Regions from separate parts of the Homo sapiens genome. Here all the other regions are linked to region 1. Evidence: promoter capture Hi-C in 16 types of primary human blood cells and fetal thymus (Javierre and others, 2016). All regions are on one chromosome and are shown on one strand. The core of a region is centred on a gene start or on the middle of the fragment in contact, and the rest is flanking DNA. Distances in the headings are between cores, read along the strand shown.

Region 1 (4,681 bases), core at 685-3,184:
CCGGGAGGCGGAGCTTGCAGTGAGCCGGGATCACGCCACTGCACTCCGGCCTGGGCAACAGAGCGAGACTCCGTCTCAAAAAAAACAAAAAAAAAGAAACACATACATGAAAGTAAAAATACTGAATTCCAGCCAAGTACAACAAACTCAACAAACCAAACAGCACTTGTCCCAAGACTCCAAAGACTGTTCAACATCAACTAACTTATCAACAAATTACATTATCTGACTAAAGGAGAAAAAGTATGTGATCATCTCAACAGAATGCCAGAAAACCACCTGATAAAATCTCTACATAAACTGTTTCTACTCTACCAAAGAGAATAATGAGCAGAGGATATGTACAGAAAATTACATAAGAAGAAATCAAATGGCAAATAAAAATATTAAAATGTTCAATCTCACTAATAAGGAAAATAAAAATTAAAACAAACTATTAATTTGACCCACTAGTCTGGCAATTTTTTTAAAAAATGCCATCAAAATGTCATCAAAAGCTAGTTAAGAATCTCAGAAATAGGTATTCTTATATATATACTGTTTGGACTATAAATCTGTAAAGTCTCATTTGGAAAGCATTTGGTGGCATTCATAAGTTTTTAATAGCATAAACTTTGACCCAGGAATTTCAGTTCTCACACTCTCTCCCAACATAACTCTTGTAGGAGATATATACATAAAGGTGTTTGTATTGTAGTCACAACAATACAAAAAAACCTGCACACCCAAATATCAGAAAAATATAATACAATACCAGGCAGTCAGTAAAAATAACAAACCACGTATATAAAGAAGCCTATCACAACAATGCAGGTATTCAACAGCGGGAATAACACAATACAGCTTAAGTGTAGGAACTTAAAAACACGTATCTCACGAGGAGTGATTAAAAGAGGCCGCGTATCAAAATACTAATGGAGGGGCAAGAAAAGGGACTTGACGCTTTCCCTTTATTTCCTCATTGAATGAATTTAAAGTACCTATTCATTCATTTGTTTTCAAACAAATTATGAACTTTTTTAAAACGGCGTTCTCTTGGCAGACTGGTGGCGTATAAAGAACATGGCTTTTGTAGTCAGATATTTGGATTCAAACCTAGGAGCTATTAACAAACTCTGTGACCGTGGGTAAAGTTTAACTTCTTTGGGCCTCAATTTTCTTATCTCTAATGCGGAGTTAACCATATCTACGAAAAGGTGAAGACGAAGGGAGAAGTGTTTGGCTCGCAAGGGAAATGAAGGCTAGCTTCCAACTCGTATTCTTCCGGCAGAGTGAAACCATAGGAGTGGAAGGAGCCAAGAGTTTAAAAAATAAATTAAAAAAAAAGTGATCAGGAAATCCAGAAACTTGAAGTTCAAGATTCAAGACACGGATGGGAGTGTGGGGCTCACCAGGACTTAGGTAGGAACATGAACCTCAAGGACGGACGACCTTGAGATTGCCGCGCTAGCAGTGAGCTCCAGCCTGCGCCCCATCCCTCTGGAAGCCCGACTTCTTCCGAAAAAGCAGCAGCTCCAGGAAGCGGCCAGAGGGGCGCGCACGCACCTGCTGCAAGGAGCCCGAGACGCTGGAAGAGTCGGTACTCCTCCGCTTCCGGCGCTCGCTGCGCTCCACGCTGCTCCCGCCCCAACAGCTGCCGCCGCTCCCACCGCCGGTGACACTTCCACTAAAATTGGCGTTCCCACAGCAGCTGACGCTCCCGCAGCCCCCGGCGCTCCCGCAGCCGCTAGTGCTTCCACTGCTGCCGCTGGCCAACGCGGGTACGATGTCCGGGGCCGCGAGCGCTGCGGCCGCCTCCTGACTGCTACGTTTGCGCCGTTTCTCCCGGGAGGACTTTTTCCCCGTCATGATCCCTCTGCTGCAACCATCGGAGGAAAGTCCGCTGTCTCTGGTGCGACCGAAGCCCGACTCCTGCGGCCGTGGGCGGCAGGCACTGGCGTCGCAGGTTATGCGTCACTTCCGGCCGTGGCACAGAACGTGGTGAAGCGTTATGGGCCGGGGTGGCAGGGGGGTTGCCATAACCAGTTGCGCTTCCCCCTCCGGTCGCGGAGGTCGATTTGAGTGTGTAGCGGGTAGCCTGTCTAGTCAGAGTTTGTTTTGTTTTGTTTTTATATCTCTACAAAGGATAGAAGGTGGAACTTACGTCCTTTTAACTTCAAAACTTTTTATTGTTAGTGTTTTGTCTGTTTACAATAAGGTTGAAGTATAGTTGCTGATTCTCCATTTCCGTTTACCTCCAAATCTTAAGATATTAACAACGCTATGACAATAAAGAGAATAGGGAAAAGTTGTTCCATCTCATTTTCCTCATCACCTGGGCAAATTAGGTATTTCTTGCGTAGAGTCTGACATGGACAAGTAGAGCTTGAGTTCGTTTTTGAAAATTGAGAATGGGTCAAAGCTTTATGAGATTTTATGGGTGGATGTAATCTAAATAGAAGGCAGATTTTAAGACAAGGGAGCTAGAACACTTAAAACGTGAACCAAGGTCTTTGTCGTTTCAGCAGGGGCCTTTAGCCACTGAGGGAAAAAGGTAGAGCCTGGGGCAAAGCTAGCTGGGTGGTAGTAATTCTGTGCCTTTCCCTGGGGTAAGAAGCAATTAAAGAAGCTTCCCTTCTCTTTGTCTCCTATTTGTCTCAGTCATTCAACAACTACTTAAATGCCTAAAACCAGCCTAGGGTTAATAAATAGGGACACTTCCAGCCCTAGGAAAACTGTCTTCCCCCAGGCCCCACTCTTAAATTGGCCTTGTAAGGTAAATCCTGGGGCTGAGCCCACTGTGTTCCCAGGAGTTCCGTTAAGTATCACACTCATTGGAGTCATACCTGAAAGGATTGAGAGTGTTGTGTTCACAGATAGGAAAAACACATAAAATTAATAACATGTTACATTTATAAACCTGTTATGAATTGTGTCCCTGAAACCATCATAATTTTAATAAAACTAAATTGCTAGATTTTTTCTTTTTTCTTTTTTTTTTTTTTGAGACGGAGTTTCACTCTCGTTGCCCAGGCTGGAGTGCAATGGCACAATCTCGGCTCACTGCAACCTCCGCCTCCCGGGTTCAAGCATTTCTCCTGCCTCAGCCTCCTGAGTAGCTGGGACTACAGGCATGCGCCACCATGCAGGGCTAATTTTGTATTTTTAGTAGACAAGGGGTTTCTCCATGTTGGTCAGGCTGGTCTCGAACTCCCGACCTCAGGTGATCCACCCGCCTCAGCCTCCCAAAGTGCTGGGATTACAGGCGTGAGCCATCGTGCCCTGCCAAATTGCTGGATTTGTGACAAAAGATAAGCTTTTAGTAGAAGCATAGCTAAACGTTAACCAACTTTTCCTATAGCCCACTTCCTTATAGCTGCTTATTGCTTTATAGATATCTTTGACTCGGTTAAGAAATCTCAAGTTTTCCATTTTGAGATATTTACCAGATTCTGTACTCCAATGGTGTTACAGAAGTTAAGAAATTATTTTAGGCAGATAGAGAGGTAAAGGGGTCTTTGGGAAGTTTTTTTTCTTTTAAAGCAGCTCCAGAAATGTTTCTTGTCTAGCAAAAAAGCTGGGCTGGCAAGCTATGATATGCAAATGCAGGCCGTTAGAAACTGGGTTTACTCAGTATGGCGATTCCCCTCTTCTTCTTGTCCCCACATGTGCCTAGCAACATGGCCATCCCCACATATCCCCACATGTGTAGAACATTGTGGCACCCTACATTCGCATATTAAAAGGCTAGGGTGGGAGGGCCACTTTTTTTGCAGGCTACGTGAATGACATACCTGGTCAAACCAATTCCCTGGGTCATATGCAAATTAGTCACCACCTCCTCCAGCCTCATAATATAACTGGCTCTTGTCTGCTGCACCCAAGGTTCCCTCTTTCATCTGGGAGCCCTCTTCCCTCTGGTTCTGTATGAGGGAGCCTCTTCTTTCTTGCCTATTAAATTCTCCGCTCCTTAAAACAATTCCACTTGTGTCTGTATCGTTTTATTTAAACCAGCACGAGACAAAAGACTGTGGTGTTCCTCCAGTCATTGGAACCATATCAGTGGGGTCACTGATGCTACTCAGTCTGAAGACCCCTTCTGAGAAACGAACTCAGCACAAGAATGCACTTTCTACCTCCTTATGATTACATCCCCCATGCCCTAACCAATCAGCAACCCCTAGCTCCTCAGCCCCCTACCCACCAAAATTCCCTTAAAAACCCCTGTCCAAAAACTTACTGGGGAGGTGATTTGAGGTTCCCTCCCATCTTCTCCCTTGGCTGGCATACCATTATTAAACTCTTTCTCTGCTGCAACTCCTGCTGTTTCCATGTATTGGTCTGGTACCATGTAGTGGTTAATAGAACCTGATGGTCCTATAACATCACCCACAGAATTCATATGTTGAATCCCTAACCCCAATGTGACTGAATTTGGAGATAGGGTCATTAAGGAGGTAATTAAGGTTAAATGAAGTCATAAGGGTGGGTCCCTAATCTAATATAACTGGTGTCCTTATTAAAAGAAGAGTCTGGGCCAGGCATGGTGGCTCACGCCTGTAATCCCAGTGCTTTAGGAGGCCGAGGCGGGTGGATCATGAGGAAGATGGAAACCATCCTGGCTAACACGGTGAAACCCCGTCTCTACTAAAAATACAAAAACAAAATTAGCTGGGCGTGGTGGCAGGCGCCTGTAGTCCCA
Region 2 (4,681 bases), core at 2,142-4,641, 660 kb after region 1:
AAAAATAAAAGTTGTATATATTTATAGCATACAATATGATGTTTTGAAATAAGTATACATTGTGAAATGACTACAGTTAATTAATATATACATTACCTCACATATTTATTTGTAGAGAGAACACTTAAAAGATACTGTTAGCAATTTTCAAGTGTACAATATATGTTGTTGGTTATAGTCACATTGTACAATAGATCTCTTGATCTTTAGCTTATTCCTCCTATCTAACTGAATAAGTTGTACAATAGATCTCTTGAACTTATTCCTCCTGTCTAACTTTGACCAACATCTCCCCAGCCCACCGCCTCTCCCCAGCACCTGGTAACCATGTTTTTACTCTCTGCTTCTATGAGTTCCAAGTTTTTCAATTCTGTGTGTAAGTGAGATCATGTGGTATTAACAATCTCTGACTTTTAATTGGGGTGTTTTGAATGTTTATATTTAAATATCTTTAAAAGATAATTGACTGTATAAGTAAAATTAAAAAACAATAAAGTGTGGAGTTTATAATGTTTGTAGAAATAAAAACGTTAAGACCATAACAGCAAAAAGACAACAACAGTAAGTTTCTTAAGCTATATGTCAAGTAGTATATAAACTGGTTATAAACTGGTAAATTAGAAAGAGGTATAACCCTAAAACAACCACTAAAATAAATCAAAGAGTATAGTTAATAAGACAATAGAAAAGACATAGTAGAATAAAAAAATCCAAAAGTAAGGAGAAAACAAAAAGAACAAATAGAAAACAGCAAGATGACAGCTTTAACCTACCATGCCAATAATCATATTAAATGTTCTAAATGCCCCAATTACAAGCTGGAGATTGTCAGATTGGATGAAAAAGCATTTATGAAGCACTAGTCAGGTACTGAACTAAGGATCGTATAAGGTCTCATTAAATCCTCTGGTGAAGTACGTATTATCACTCCATTTCCAATATTTACAAAATGAACCTTGCATAGGTTAAGTAACTTCTCCAAGCAGCACAGCAGGGATTCACACTCGGGCTCTGAATAGTGCAAGTAGACCTGTAAAACCTGCTTCCTTACTCTCCTTTCAATTCAGCTACACTGAGTACCAGTTACATGGAGTTACTAAGTTAGGAGCTGTGCCCATGGCAATGACTGTAACTGTCTGGGATGAAATCCACCTTTACCAGCTGTGTGACCTTGGGCGGTGTATTACACATCTTTAAGCTTTAGTTTCCTCATTTGTAAAATGGAAGTAATAAAACTAGTCCCATAGTGTTACTGTGTGTTAAATGGAGGTGGTTGACTGTTTTTGTTACTTTAAGCTATACCCTGCAGATCATAGGAGAAATATCAATTTGTGCAATTCTACATCAAAATCAAAATAGTATTATATAAGAGTGATCTGTTTAAACTGTAGCATTATAGAAATATACTATAGAAGGAACTATTTTATATTTACTTTATAGTATTATATGAAGTTTTGGTTTCTTCTTTGAGAATCATAGTAATGTGATCAGTTAGTCTTCTTTTAAAGAAACCTCTCATCCCAACTATTCTATTTTCAAAAAAAAACTTTTTCTTGGAGTGAAAATGTCAAACCTATTCCTAGCTTTGCAGATGAAAGTGTTCAGATTCCTTGGATTTTTACTTTGGATACATGTATTAGATACCTGGGATGAATAACTTCAGTTTAGGTTATATTAATATTATAATAATAAGAATGTTTAAAAACAATTTATCTAAATAGTATTTTACATTTGAAATATTAATATATAATTTGAAAAATCAAAATGAAATCCAGAGAGTTAAGCAGAAAGTTTTTTTAACATAAGATTATATTATAAAGCTTCTTTAAATATTTTTTCTTTGAAAAGACAAAATTAATTTTAAAAAAAGTTTAGATCCAGCATGACTGTCAGCTGAACAGAAGCTGATCAGTCTTCAAATATCATAGTATTTTTTTCTGAATGAACAACTGAAAGAGGCAAAATTTCAAATATATTTTATTCAAAATTCTCCATTTAGGAGAAAAGATATATAACAATGTTTACACATGCTTTAATAACTTATTTCACTGTACAACTTACATTCTGTATAACAGTACAATAAACCAGCCAAAGAAAATAACCAGTTAGCACTTAAATAAGAATCTACCATGTAAAAAACACAGTATGGGACACTACAAGGTAGTATTTATATATTTTTTAAATGACTGAGCTACAGTACAACAGTCATCTAGTTCAGTGGTTGTCTAAAACATCAAGCTGTCCACATCTTTCTGATTCATGATGGGAAAGCTATTATGACCTTTCACATTCGAACATGTCATTTTGTTGTGTAAATTTGGTGGGTGGGGGGCAGAAGGGCTCTATTACCTTTATCCCTTTCTTATAAATATATTTTCCCTTTTATATTACTTCCAGAATTTTAAATAAAATATTTATTTGTGTTTGTGTAACTACAATGTCAACATTGTGTTAGAATTATATTAATCAGTTATTTTATAGCCAGCAAAATGGTCCAAACGCATTAAGAAAACAAAAGATAACTTAGCTCTGCCAAAGTAGCACCTAGGAAAACAGCACTTCAGTAAAATTTCTCCTGCTATTCCTTATAGCCTATTGCAGGCAAACAGCAACAACTTCAAAAACATAGGCAGAAATGCAAGAAGGAAGTACTCAAGGAACTATTTTCTGTTTCTGAAAAAAAGATCTTATTAGTTAGTATATTCTCTAAGGCATTTTATAATCTCAGAGTTGCAATGATTGCCAAAGCAGGTACATGGTAAGACTTAGCAAGAAGAAAACAAGATGAAAATGACTGACCAGTGAAATCTGAACTTGTTCCAAGTAATTAGATTTTCTAAGGAGAAAAAAGGCACAGGAGGTGCACATTTCAATTTGGCTCAAAAATAATGAAAATTAATTTAAAAAGTTGGCAACAATTACTAAAACATAAAATACAATTTCCTTTTACAGAGCTCAACTACATAGAATATCAACAATAGCAAGAACAATAAAATAAACAAAACACCCTAACTGTGGTTCACCAGGAACAAGGACTATAGAGAACTATTAGACATTTCTACAGACTGAATCCCAGGGACTAAATCCACAAAGTAGGATCTAATAATCAATTCCAATTAAACATCTGCTTGATCAATTTTCTTTCTAAAGCTCATCCTATGTTCAAGCTCACTTTCTTTCTGTGGAATTGAAATCATTTAAAGGCTCTAGTTTTCAGTTGATTGCAGAAGTATTACAGTAATTCTACACACCAAAGAATGCCAAAAGATAGAAAGTCAACTATCTGTAAAAGCCAACTCAGATTTCACCTTGACACATGTAAACCATGAATCATGTATTTCAAAAAAACAGTAGTTGTGGTCAAGTTTACATCCTATTATTATATCTTTAAAAGATAGCAATAATATTTATTATATTGTAAACATAGGTCTGTATCCCAAAAGCATAAATCTAGGAAAAGAGACACCCAATGTAATGATGCACCTGACATCCCCTCACAGGCTCTTGTGAGAACTGTAGTGTAACTTACTTAACTGCAATTGCTGAGAGCAGAATTCTGGAGTATGATCCAGGGGAACGTTTCCCCACACCACTGAGCTACTTTACCAGCGATCATGATTGTGATGGAATAGGCTTATTAAGTTACACATTTAAAAAGTCATTAGAACATCTCGTTCTTGCACACTAGTGTAGAAAGGTCTTCCAAAGATAAAAGAGTGTAGGCCTGGTTTAATTTTCTCAGCCAGAGCCATTATTATGTTAAGATCGCCCTCTGCTGTTAAATCAAGGTCTATCTTCAGGTTCCGAAGAGATTTAAAGGGCTTTTTTCCCTTCTGCCTAAAAATAATGGAAAAAAAAAAAAAAAAAAAAAAAAAAGAAGCGCAAAAATTATGATATAGAAAATGTACAAAGGAAACAAAACAAAAAAACAATGTACAAAGGTTTTTCTTCCGTGTAGGAGTTTTACTCACGTATCGTCTTCTATATATTTTATTAGTGTCAAGGCTTTTCTGTGAAGGACAAGTAGAAACTGTGCAAGGAAAGTACTTCTGAGAGATAAGCCAGGTTTCAGCTGAAAGACCTGCAGGGAGAGGAACCATTTCAACACATAATTTGCTCACATTCTACTCGTACAGAAGTTTCTATGACAGTGTTGACAGTGCTTGGCAGACAATACACACTAAACATCTCCTTAACCATTTCCACTGATGCCCCCTAACAGGAGTGTGGTATAGAAGCACTAGGTGTAGGAACAATCTGATATTTTTTTTTTTTTTTGAGACGGAGTCTAGCTCTGTCACCAGGCTAAAGTGCAGTGGCGCGATCTTGACTCACTGCAACCTACACCTCCTGGGTTCAAGCGATTCTCCTGCCTCAGCCTCCCAGGTAGCTGGGATTACAGGCACACGCTGCCACGCCCAGCTAATTTTTGTATACTTAGTAGAGACGGGGTTTCACCATGTTGGCAGGATGGTCTCGATCTCCTGACCTTGTGATCCACCCACCTCGGACTCCCAAAGTGCTGGGATTACAGGCATAAGCCACCAGGCCCAGACAATCTGACAGTTTTTAGAAGTTTTCTAATTTATCTTTAAAAATGCATTCAAATTTTGCATTCTACTTCAGAATACATCCATGTTTACTTCACTTTTAAAACTCATACATAAGTTATTTCGTATTA
Region 3 (4,681 bases), core at 1,581-4,080, 630 kb after region 1:
ACCAGCCCTCCCTCTGAGGAAAGCCTGAACATGTATAAACGATCTCAAGCCATGCCAGGGAAATAAGAACAGATATCATGGAAACCATGTTAGCATGTCAGTGCATAGCCTACTGATGACAAACTCAGCAGTTATGCCAGACGAATTTAGGAGTCAAAATGTTTCCTTACACTGTCATTGTTTTCAATTTTCTGATTATATTTTTGAGATACATTCAATACCTCTGGCTTTACAGAACAGAGGTATGACCAGTGACTGATCATTCAATAATGCTTCTAATCAGAGTGATTATATGTGAGTGTACAAGTGTGTGTATGTTTGTGTGTGTCAGTATTATTTTGTTTTAGTATGACAGGTGACCTCTTTGCCATGTACACTTGTTACGGGTATGTGCACATGTAAAGCCAGCATAGAGAAATGCAATCAAATGTAACTCTGCAGGAGGAGGAAGAGTAGCAGAGGAATGGCTCTCTGCAGGGGATGTCACGTCTGAGCTCTGCTGTGAGAGGTCAGTGGGAGCTTGCATGGTGGATAGGGTTGTCAGATAAAATAAAGACACCCAGTTAAATCTGAATTTCAGAAAAACAATGAATGACTTTTTAGTAGGTATGTCCCAAATATTGCATGAGTGTTCTATATTTTTATCTGCTAAGACAGGCAATCCTAATGGTGGGAGAAGGACAGATGTGTATGCCAACCATCTTTCCTTCTTTGTCATGAATATTGTCAATATCAGCATCTATTAACGTTTACAGAACATGGGGAATGGAGTCCTTGCTCTTGGGGAACCCTAAGAATTACTCCTCCTGCCTAAAACACTCAGAACATGCCTGCTTCTTCAACCACAGCCTCCTCGAGATCATGCACTACAACTTATTCCTCCTTCTTCAGGACCTAGGCCAGTGACGGAAATGTCATAAACACAAAAGTACATTTTTAGATAAATGAGAATATAATATGGAATTATAGTAAAGGGAGGAAATTTGGGGTGAGAGGGCTAAAGATGACAAAACTGTGCATGGCTGAAAATACAGGCAACTTCAAGACGAATGACAATAGCCAAATGTGCAGCCATCTCCAACACCTATGAGCAGAACTGAACAATCTTTTAGCTTGGTTAGTATCATTGAACTGTCTCAAACTAGTGAAAAGTATACTAAGCACCACGGGCAATTTCAGGGAAGAGGGGAATGCACTAAATTGGGAGACCAACACTTATACAATTATCTGTTTTTTAAAACCCATGGTTAAGGAGGCCAAGGCATCGTAAAAGCAAAATGGGGAACAAGCAGTTCTAATTGGAACAGTTCAAGAAGTTTTAGGTAGAGAAGTTATATGAGGTATGTAAAAAGCCATGGCCCTCAGAGAGGCTTTGCACTTTATAGAATGTGTGTGTGTGTGTGTGTGTAATTATAAGTATATATACATGTATAAACATGGCTGCAAGAATAGTATATTCCCACATACTGTGTGTTATTCATATCAACTGATTGGAACTGAGCCTTAGGGAGAATCCACATTTTCTTTCAAAATACTCTAGAGTAGAAATGTTTAAACAAATAAAATAGTATTGATCCCATTTCAGATGTATAATAATTTTTCCTTTTTTAATGTATCTTCTTTTAAAAACAGCCTTCTCTTATTAAATAAGAAATACTTGGCCAGGTACAGTGGCTCACGCCTGTAATCCCAGCACTTTGGGAGGCCGAGGCGGTCGGATCATGAGGTCAGGAGATCGAGACCGTCGTCGCCAACATGGTGAAACCCTGTCTCTACTAAAATACAAAAAAATTAACGAGACATGGTGACGCGTGCCTGTAATCCCAGCTACTTGTGAGGCTGAGGCAGGAGAATCGCTTGAACCCGGGAGGCGGAGGTTGCAGTGAGCCGAGATCGCGCCACTGCACTCCAGCCTGGAGACAGAGCAAGACCCCGTCTCACAAAAAAAAAAAAAAAAAAAAAAAAGAAAAGAAAGAAAGAAAGAAAAAGAAATACTTGCTCACCACAGAAAACTTAAAAAATCCAGGTAAATAAAAATATAAAAATAAAAACCACCCATTATTCTTCCAGTTAGAGATAGTGACTCAAAATTTTTGCATATATATCAAGACATTTTTTCATATATATATATATATATATATATATGCATATGTCTATATTTAACAAAAGTGGTATCAGCCTCTATATGCAAATATAAGCTTGTTTTTTAAACTACAAAGTGTATCTATCCAAGTGACCAAATATATTCCCACACATAATTTTTAGTGCTTACATATATGTTTTCTACTGATGGCTTACTTAACTAAGTATTTATTGCTGAACATTAAAATTGTTTTCCATTTTTTGCTGTGACAAACTTCCTTACAGCTAAGTCTTTAAGGGCATCATCATTATTTCTGGGGAATCAGTTCCTAGAGGATCAATCGCTGAGTCAAATATTATGTACATTTTTAAGGCTTTTGATCCATATCACCACTTTCCTCTCTAGGAAGGTTGTGTCAATTTATAACGCTATATAAAAGGGCTTGTTTTCTTAATGTTTTCCAAATTTGGTCAGCCCAAGAAATCTGCCCATGAAATAAGAATTTATGTAGATGGAACAAATAGAATAATATATATATATATATTTTTTTCCGTAAGAAACCTTTCCTAAAAGCCAGGATTTTAAGAAATCCCACTTACCCACAATTAGCCTTTGGTGCAGTCAACTGATTTAGACAAGAACTTTTTAAGCCAACTTTTCAATCAAAGTCTGCCATGTTTGTGGAACTGTGGCTATTTACCATTTTACAATGACTTAATTGCAAATTAATGTATATCTTTTTTTTCTTGAGAAGATATAATAAGCTACCTTTTTAAAATGACAATCCATTTTATTTTCCTGGAGAAAAGAATCCATTTGCTTTAACCATAATCAGAGGAAGGTTATTTGGTCAAACAAAGTAAAAACCATAAACAATAGATAGCCATCATTACCACAGTAACATTGGTCCAGCTAGGAATTCACTTAGCTAAATGGGTGACTTCCTACTCACATACCTCCTCAGTGCACAACAAACACAGGAGCAAACAAAAGCCTTTACAGAATCCAGAACCACCAGGCAAGAAGATATAATAATCAAGCAATCAAGCAAAAGTTTAAAAATACTGCCTAAACTGCACCAAAAAAAAAAAAGAAAAGAAAAGAAAAGAAAATGATACTACAAGAGAGAAGTTAATGAGGCAGAAAGATATTCTCAAATATAAAACCCCCTCCAGGACTTTTAAGAAAGGTATCAGAGGCATATGGAAGGCTAAGTCCAGGATGGATTTAACTGAAGAAAAGGATATTTAGAGATTATCAACATTTTCTAATGCAACAGAAAACCAAGCCAACTTAGTCTCCTACTTAGTAAGTGCCAGCTCTATTCTTCATCTTTTTGGAGATCCAGAAAAATCAAAAAGAGAAAATATCCAAATATAGAAGCTTAATTTAACAAAATTGGAAAAACCTAAACTATACTGTGCTCTGGTGACCTAGCAATCAAATAATCACAGTCATTTGGTCAATGTCTATGATTAACTCAATGAGACAGGATGTTTGGCTATAGCACCAGGTACAAAAAATATATTTTCATGAAGGATCACTCCCTCTTATGTAATAGATTTGGGTGAGTGAGTGAGTGAGTGAGTGCATGGACTCACAGCTTTTGGCTTTCTGAAATACCCTGCATCAGTCTTGTTATGATGATTCCTTAGTGCTGGGATGGATCATCCAGGCATTTAAGGTAACACGATGGTAATTCTTTGCTCATTTTTCAGGGAAAAAAAAAAGTTATCACTTCCAAAGTCGGCATAGTCACCCGAAGTAAAAAAAAAAAAAAAAAAAAAGCCTCAGAGGCAAAGGAAAGGGGCCGCAACCTTGGTTAACTGTGAAATGACGAATGAGAAAACTCCTCCTGCTGAAGATATTCAGGTATATAAAGGCACATGAAGGAAAACTCAAAACATCATTGTCATATACACATCTTCTGGATTTTTTAGCTTGCAAAAAAAATGAGCACCAAACCTGATATGATTCAAAAGTGTTTGTGGCTTGAGATCCTTATGGGTATATTCATTGCTGGCACCCTATCCCTGGACTGTAACTTACTGAACGTTCACCTGAGAAGAGTCACCTGGCAAAATCTGAGACATCTGAGTAGTATGAGCAATTCATTTCCTGTAGAATGTCTACGAGAAAACATAGCTTTTGAGTTGCCCCAAGAGTTTCTGCAATACACCCAACCTATGAAGAGGGACATCAAGAAGGCCTTCTATGAAATGTCCCTACAGGCCTTCAACATCTTCAGCCAACACACCTTCAAATATTGGAAAGAGAGACACCTCAAACAAATCCAAATAGGACTTGATCAGCAAGCAGAGTACCTGAACCAATGCTTGGAGGAAGACAAGAATGAAAATGAAGACATGAAAGAAATGAAAGAGAATGAGATGAAACCCTCAGAAGCCAGGGTCCCCCAGCTGAGCAGCCTGGAACTGAGGAGATATTTCCACAGGATAGACAATTTCCTGAAAGAAAAGAAATACAGTGACTGTGCCTGGGAGATTGTCCGAGTGGAAATCAGAAGATGTTTGTATTACTTTTACAAATTTACAGCTCTATTCAGGAGGAAATAAGGTATATTTTTGGAATTAAAAT
Region 4 (4,681 bases), core at 713-3,212, 580 kb after region 1:
ATTCCTGTTATCATTCCTGTTATCAGAATCCAGAGATCCTGCCAGAAGGATTAAGTCTGCATTTCTAGAAACTCTCAAGAGAGAACAGACAACCATCTAGCTAGATGATTTCTCATTTTTCTACATGAAAAACAGGTACACAAAGCAGGTAACCCTGAGATAAAATTGAGACAAATAATTAATGATTCTACCCACTCTATTCTCTCAAACATGCCAATAACAAGTTAAAAAAAAAGTTTGAAATGAAATTGAGTCAGACATGTAATTGCAAACCATGTATCCTCCTCAAAGACTGAAAAGAGGTCTACCTTTAGAGCCAGAAAGATGCAGGTCTGAGTCCAGACTCTGCCCCTTGACCAGTTACCCTTGTGGGCTAAATGCTTTCTCTTTGTGCTTTAATTTCTTTCTTTGTTGTTAGGGTGCTAATACCAATATCACAGTGGGTTTTGGGGATAAGTGAGATAATATAAGTAAAGATAGGTAAATGTCAAGTGTTAAATTTATTAATCTGGATTTCTCCTATGATCAGATTTCAGGTGGTGTGATGATCAATAGGAGTCCCAACCATAATGTGCTCTTTCTTTGACTTCTTCCCCACAAGACCTAAGCACATGACCCTCAAAAAGTGTAAAATCTTGAGGCACCTCAGAGGGAAGCACCATTTCCCCACTCGTGGTTTGGATGAGGAAGAATTTTCCCTATGCATCCTACTATCCTCTCTATGTCCTTTTACTAACATCGCCCCAGGGCAAGTGGAGGGATGGATTCACTTAGTTGGCAAACCGCACATGCTCAGCTGGCTCAGCCTGACCTTTTTTCCTCCTGCGAAGTGCCTGCTTTCAAGTGTGCTACCTGCTGCTTCCCCAGCTTTCTGCCTTTATGAATGGAATTGGTCTGCTCTCACCAGTGCTACATGGGAAAGGGTGGGCAAATCCAGAGTTTAGAGTTAACAGGCCCATTGGTTAACAGTCTGGCTTCCATAAGAAACAAAGTTGATTTTTGTTTTTGTTGTTGTATTGTTACTATCAACTTCTTTGAAGCCACATAGGGAAGAGTGGTGTGACTTGTTTATTAGGGCTCTATTGGAGAACTAACATTGTTAAGTTGTGCAGAGTGGCTTGGCTATGCAAAGTTAGCTGTTTTTGTTAGCAGAGACTCTTCGTGACATTAGTTCAACAAGAACTCTGTTTAAGACATAACTTACTCATCTGCAGAAAGTCTGTCTACACACCAGAAATGCATAGCCTTCTCAAGAGATTTCTCAGCTAAGAAAGAAAACCTAGTCATAGGGTGCATTTGTACCAGTTACTGCTCAGTGGCAGACACACAGAGACAGACTGCTCAGAACAGAGTCCCCCATCATCTATGAAGTGCTTCTGAATCCTCCACAATTGACAGTGAGCTTTAGGCCTGACAGTCCCATGCCCCTGTATGTGGCTACTGTCTGGGAACATGATTATCAGAAGCTTTCTCCAGGGAACTGAAAAACTTTCTATCCACTCAGATAAGGCCTCTCCCTTGCCCAGCCTCGATTTCCTCAAACTTCTCTCTGGCTTAACTTCAACTCCTGGTAAAGCAGAGGGAACAAGGTACCAAAAGAAGGAGCAAGAAGGACGGGATGGCTGGTCATCGTGTGCACCTTGCATGCACATCTCTGATGCGAATGCCCCAGGACCACATACTGTGCTGTATTTCTTTGCTCACATGTCTGGCCCCTCCATCAGTTTATGAGGGTTGGGAGCACACCCTAGACTTCACTGCATCCCTGGTACCTAACACAGGACCCAGCAGAAACAGGAACTCAGTAACTTTTTGTGGTTAAACTGTGTATCTAAATGATTGTTAATCAAATACCGCACAGATAAACAGTTCTTTCTCCAGTTGAGAGGACTAGGCCCCCATAATCATAATGAGACAATGGACAAAAGGAATCTTTTCAGAAAACAGAACTACTTCATGCAAAGATCAACAGTGGCTACTGGACATGATGTTTCCCAGGCCAATCTAAACAGCTCCCATGTTTTCATTTTCTAGCATTCAGTGAAAAGTCAGCTCCTTTGGAAGCATGCCCACTGGCTTAAAACAATGTTTAAAAAGTCATGGTAGAACTTTGTAAAGATCTTTGCAATACCACGCAAAGACCTTTACCTTTGTGCTTTGTTTAAAAAATAAGTTTTAAAAATATACCTCAGAGGAAAAAATAATGGGGAAGAGAGCAAGCTAATCAACTTGGGAATTTTTCTTTTTTTGTAGAGATGGGGGTCTTGCCATGTTGCCCAGGCTGGTCTTGAAATCCTGGGCTCAAGCAGTCCTCCTGCCTCAGCCTCCCTAGATGCTGGGATTACAGGGATGAGTCACAGTGCCTGGCTGGGAATTTTTTTTCTAATACGAGAAAAAAAATGTATCATCTCACCTCCTTTAGTGAAAACTCAACTTCTGTGACTTTGGTGTCCATGCCCAAGCTTCTGTCTCTGTTGCATCCACTCTTGTTGCCTTTGTACCCTTCAGTGACAGCATCCTGGCCCCTAACCTGTCTCCCTCAATCATCCCACACAACACCACGACATTAATTTTCCTCGAACTTTGATCCTGCTACCCATTCCGTGTGCATCTGCTAGGGAGGCCTGATAGCAAGGTCATGGCTGACAGGATTGTACAGCAGGAAGAACTTCTGAACATCAGTTAATTCAATAGAGCCTCTTAATTTATTAAAAACAAAAACAAACAGCTAGTGCCCAGAAAACTGAAGTGAATATTTAAAGGTTCACAGTTAGGACAGACCTGGGGCTGAAAACAAAGCCTCAACCTCAGTGCCTGTGTTCTTTCCACTAGGCAATGGATCTGTTTAATACTTCAGCAAGTCTGACACTTAATGGCCCTTCAAAACTTCCCCCCTCCCTTTTCGTGCCAGGCGTGGTAGCTGACACCTAGAATTTCAGCACTTTGGGAAGCCAAGGCAGGAGGATCGCTTGAAGCCAGGAATTAGAGACCAGCCTGGGCAACAAAGCAACACCTTCCCCCTCCCCCAGCCATCTCTGCAAAACAAAACAAAACAAAATTAGCCTGGCACGGTGGCACACACCTATGGTCCCAGCTATCTGGGAGGCTGAGGCAGGAGGAGGATCACATGAGCCTAGGAGTTCGAGGCCACAATGAACTATAATCATGTCACTGCATTCCAGCATGGGCACAGAGTGAGACCCTGTCTCTTAAAAGAAAAAAAAAAAAAAGAAAAGAAAACTACCCCAACTTAACTGTCTTTTTAGATCTATGGAGAGATGTAGATATAGATATTATTCATATTCCTGGTGATTTTTAAGCCTTTTAAAGCAACATAGCTCCTTTGTTCCTCCAAATGAAGTTTTATGCAGGCCCTCAATTTTATAAAAATAAATAAAAATTATTTATCTCTTCTGCAGCTGAAGCAGGGTGTCTACTCCTCTCAACAGCCACTGAAACACCTCTGAGAACTTTCAGGTTTCGCTTGATCAATCGGACAACTCCCCAGACCCCTAATGCTGACTGCACTTGTCAGTGGCTAAATCCCTGCCCCTGCCCTTTCTTTTGCCTTCCGCCTGCCATAATCCTCCAGCCTCCAGGCGACTTCTCCCTACAGTGCTGTTAGGAAGTGACTCTTGTCTCTCCTTTGCTCCAAAGCTCTGAATCTGTAGCCCTTCCTTTGTATCTAAACAGTCCGATTTGTTGGTTATTCTCACAGCTCACCCCCAACTTCTGGCCCATCTATAATCAGGGCCCACCCACCCATCTGTTAGCCCTGTGGGCCCATCAAAGCAGGCTTCAAACACAAGCTGCCACCTCTGGTGGAGGTTCAGCCTACCCCTTCCCCTTCTCTCCTGACCCTTCCCTAATCTGGCTTTGTTTCTGCCATCCCTGCCGCACTCATTTGGAACCCTTGCTTTTCTCAGCAAATATTTATGGGTTTGACTTGTTCTTATTGAGTTCTATACTCTTCCCCCAGCACTGCCTCCCCCTGGCCTTTTATCTTTTGTTTGTTTGTTTTTTTCTCTTTCACTTTTCCCCTTTTGAGCTCTGGCGGCTCTGGTAGAAGGTGGTGGCTGCTGAAGGAAAAAATACAACCCCTTCTCACCCTGAACCATCTGTCCACGGACTAACTAGTAAGTTCCCTCTGGGTTTCCTGGGGACACTCGGAAATGGCAGAAAGACCAAGATCACTTGCACCTGGGGTGCAAGTTTAAAATGCAGACTCTAGCATCCCACCCCTCACCAGTGGATGTGTGGACTCTGCTGCTCTCCAGGATTTAAGAGCTCCCTGAGCCAGGGAGTCTGACATGCCTGGCCTGGCATATCCAGTGGTCCATGGGCCAAAAGTCATTTCCTGAGGCGAATAGGCAGGAGACAAAAGTGGTCATCTGAAGAGTTGTATTTCCAGCAGTAAGAATGGCAGAAAAAGTCCTTGGGGGAAAGGAGAATTAACCTGAATCATTATTGGGAATATACAACATGGCCCTGCCCCTACTGGTCTACACCACCTGTGGAGAGGCTAGTTCAATGAACCACCCCTGCGCTTTGTGGCTCTTGGTCACTGTGTTGTATAGACTGGTCGTTAAGTAAATGGATCTGAGATCAGACTGCCCGATTTTGACTCCCAAATCTACCATTTCTAGAGTGTGGGCTCTGGAGCTTACTATATCACATTGCT

What was found. The method cuts DNA at HindIII sites, captures the fragments that hold promoters and counts their contacts. A CHiCAGO score of 5 or more calls a contact.
Region 2: a fragment that was not itself captured here is called in contact with the fragment with the promoter of CAAP1 in region 1 in 5 of 17 cell types (activated CD4 T cells, naive B cells, total CD4 T cells and 2 more); the score reaches 6.7 in activated CD4 T cells.
Region 3: a contact is called between a fragment that was not itself captured here and the fragment with the promoter of CAAP1 in region 1, in 4 of 17 cell types (total B cells, activated CD4 T cells, naive B cells and 1 more). The highest score is 8.2, in total B cells.
Region 4: a contact is called between a fragment that was not itself captured here and the fragment with the promoter of CAAP1 in region 1, in 1 of 17 cell types (erythroblasts). The highest score is 5.0, in erythroblasts.

What each region holds. Positions count from the first base shown.
Region 1 is chr9:26,890,868-26,895,548 of GRCh38, forward strand. CAAP1 (caspase activity and apoptosis inhibitor 1) reads right to left here and starts at 1,935. Exons shown (of 6, transcript NM_024828.4): 1 at 1,546-1,935. The coding sequence starts at 1,848. RefSeq lists enhancers at 1,334-1,913, 1,485-1,664, 1,745-1,964, 1,914-2,493, 2,095-2,164. The HindIII fragment of the contact is 2,677 bases long and covers 1-2,399 here.
Region 2 is chr9:27,544,586-27,549,266 of GRCh38, forward strand. It overlaps C9orf72 (C9orf72-SMCR8 complex subunit), which reads right to left. Exons shown (of 11, transcript NM_018325.5): 10 at 3,972-4,081; 11 at 1,961-3,837. The coding sequence ends at 3,651. Among named protein-coding and RNA genes, the nearest start is that of MOB3B, 17 kb to the left of the region's middle. The HindIII fragment of the contact is 3,146 bases long and covers 1,819-4,681 here.
Region 3 is chr9:27,520,302-27,524,982 of GRCh38, forward strand. All of the region lies in intron 1 of MOB3B (MOB kinase activator 3B), which reads right to left. IFNK (interferon kappa) reads left to right here and starts at 3,989. Exons shown (of 2, transcript NM_020124.3): 1 at 3,989-4,660. The coding sequence starts at 4,036. The coding sequence ends at 4,659. The HindIII fragment of the contact is 1,268 bases long and covers 2,197-3,464 here.
Region 4 is chr9:27,466,899-27,471,579 of GRCh38, forward strand. All of the region lies in intron 1 of MOB3B (MOB kinase activator 3B), which reads right to left. Among named protein-coding and RNA genes, the nearest start is that of IFNK, 55 kb to the right of the region's middle. The HindIII fragment of the contact is 996 bases long and covers 1,465-2,460 here.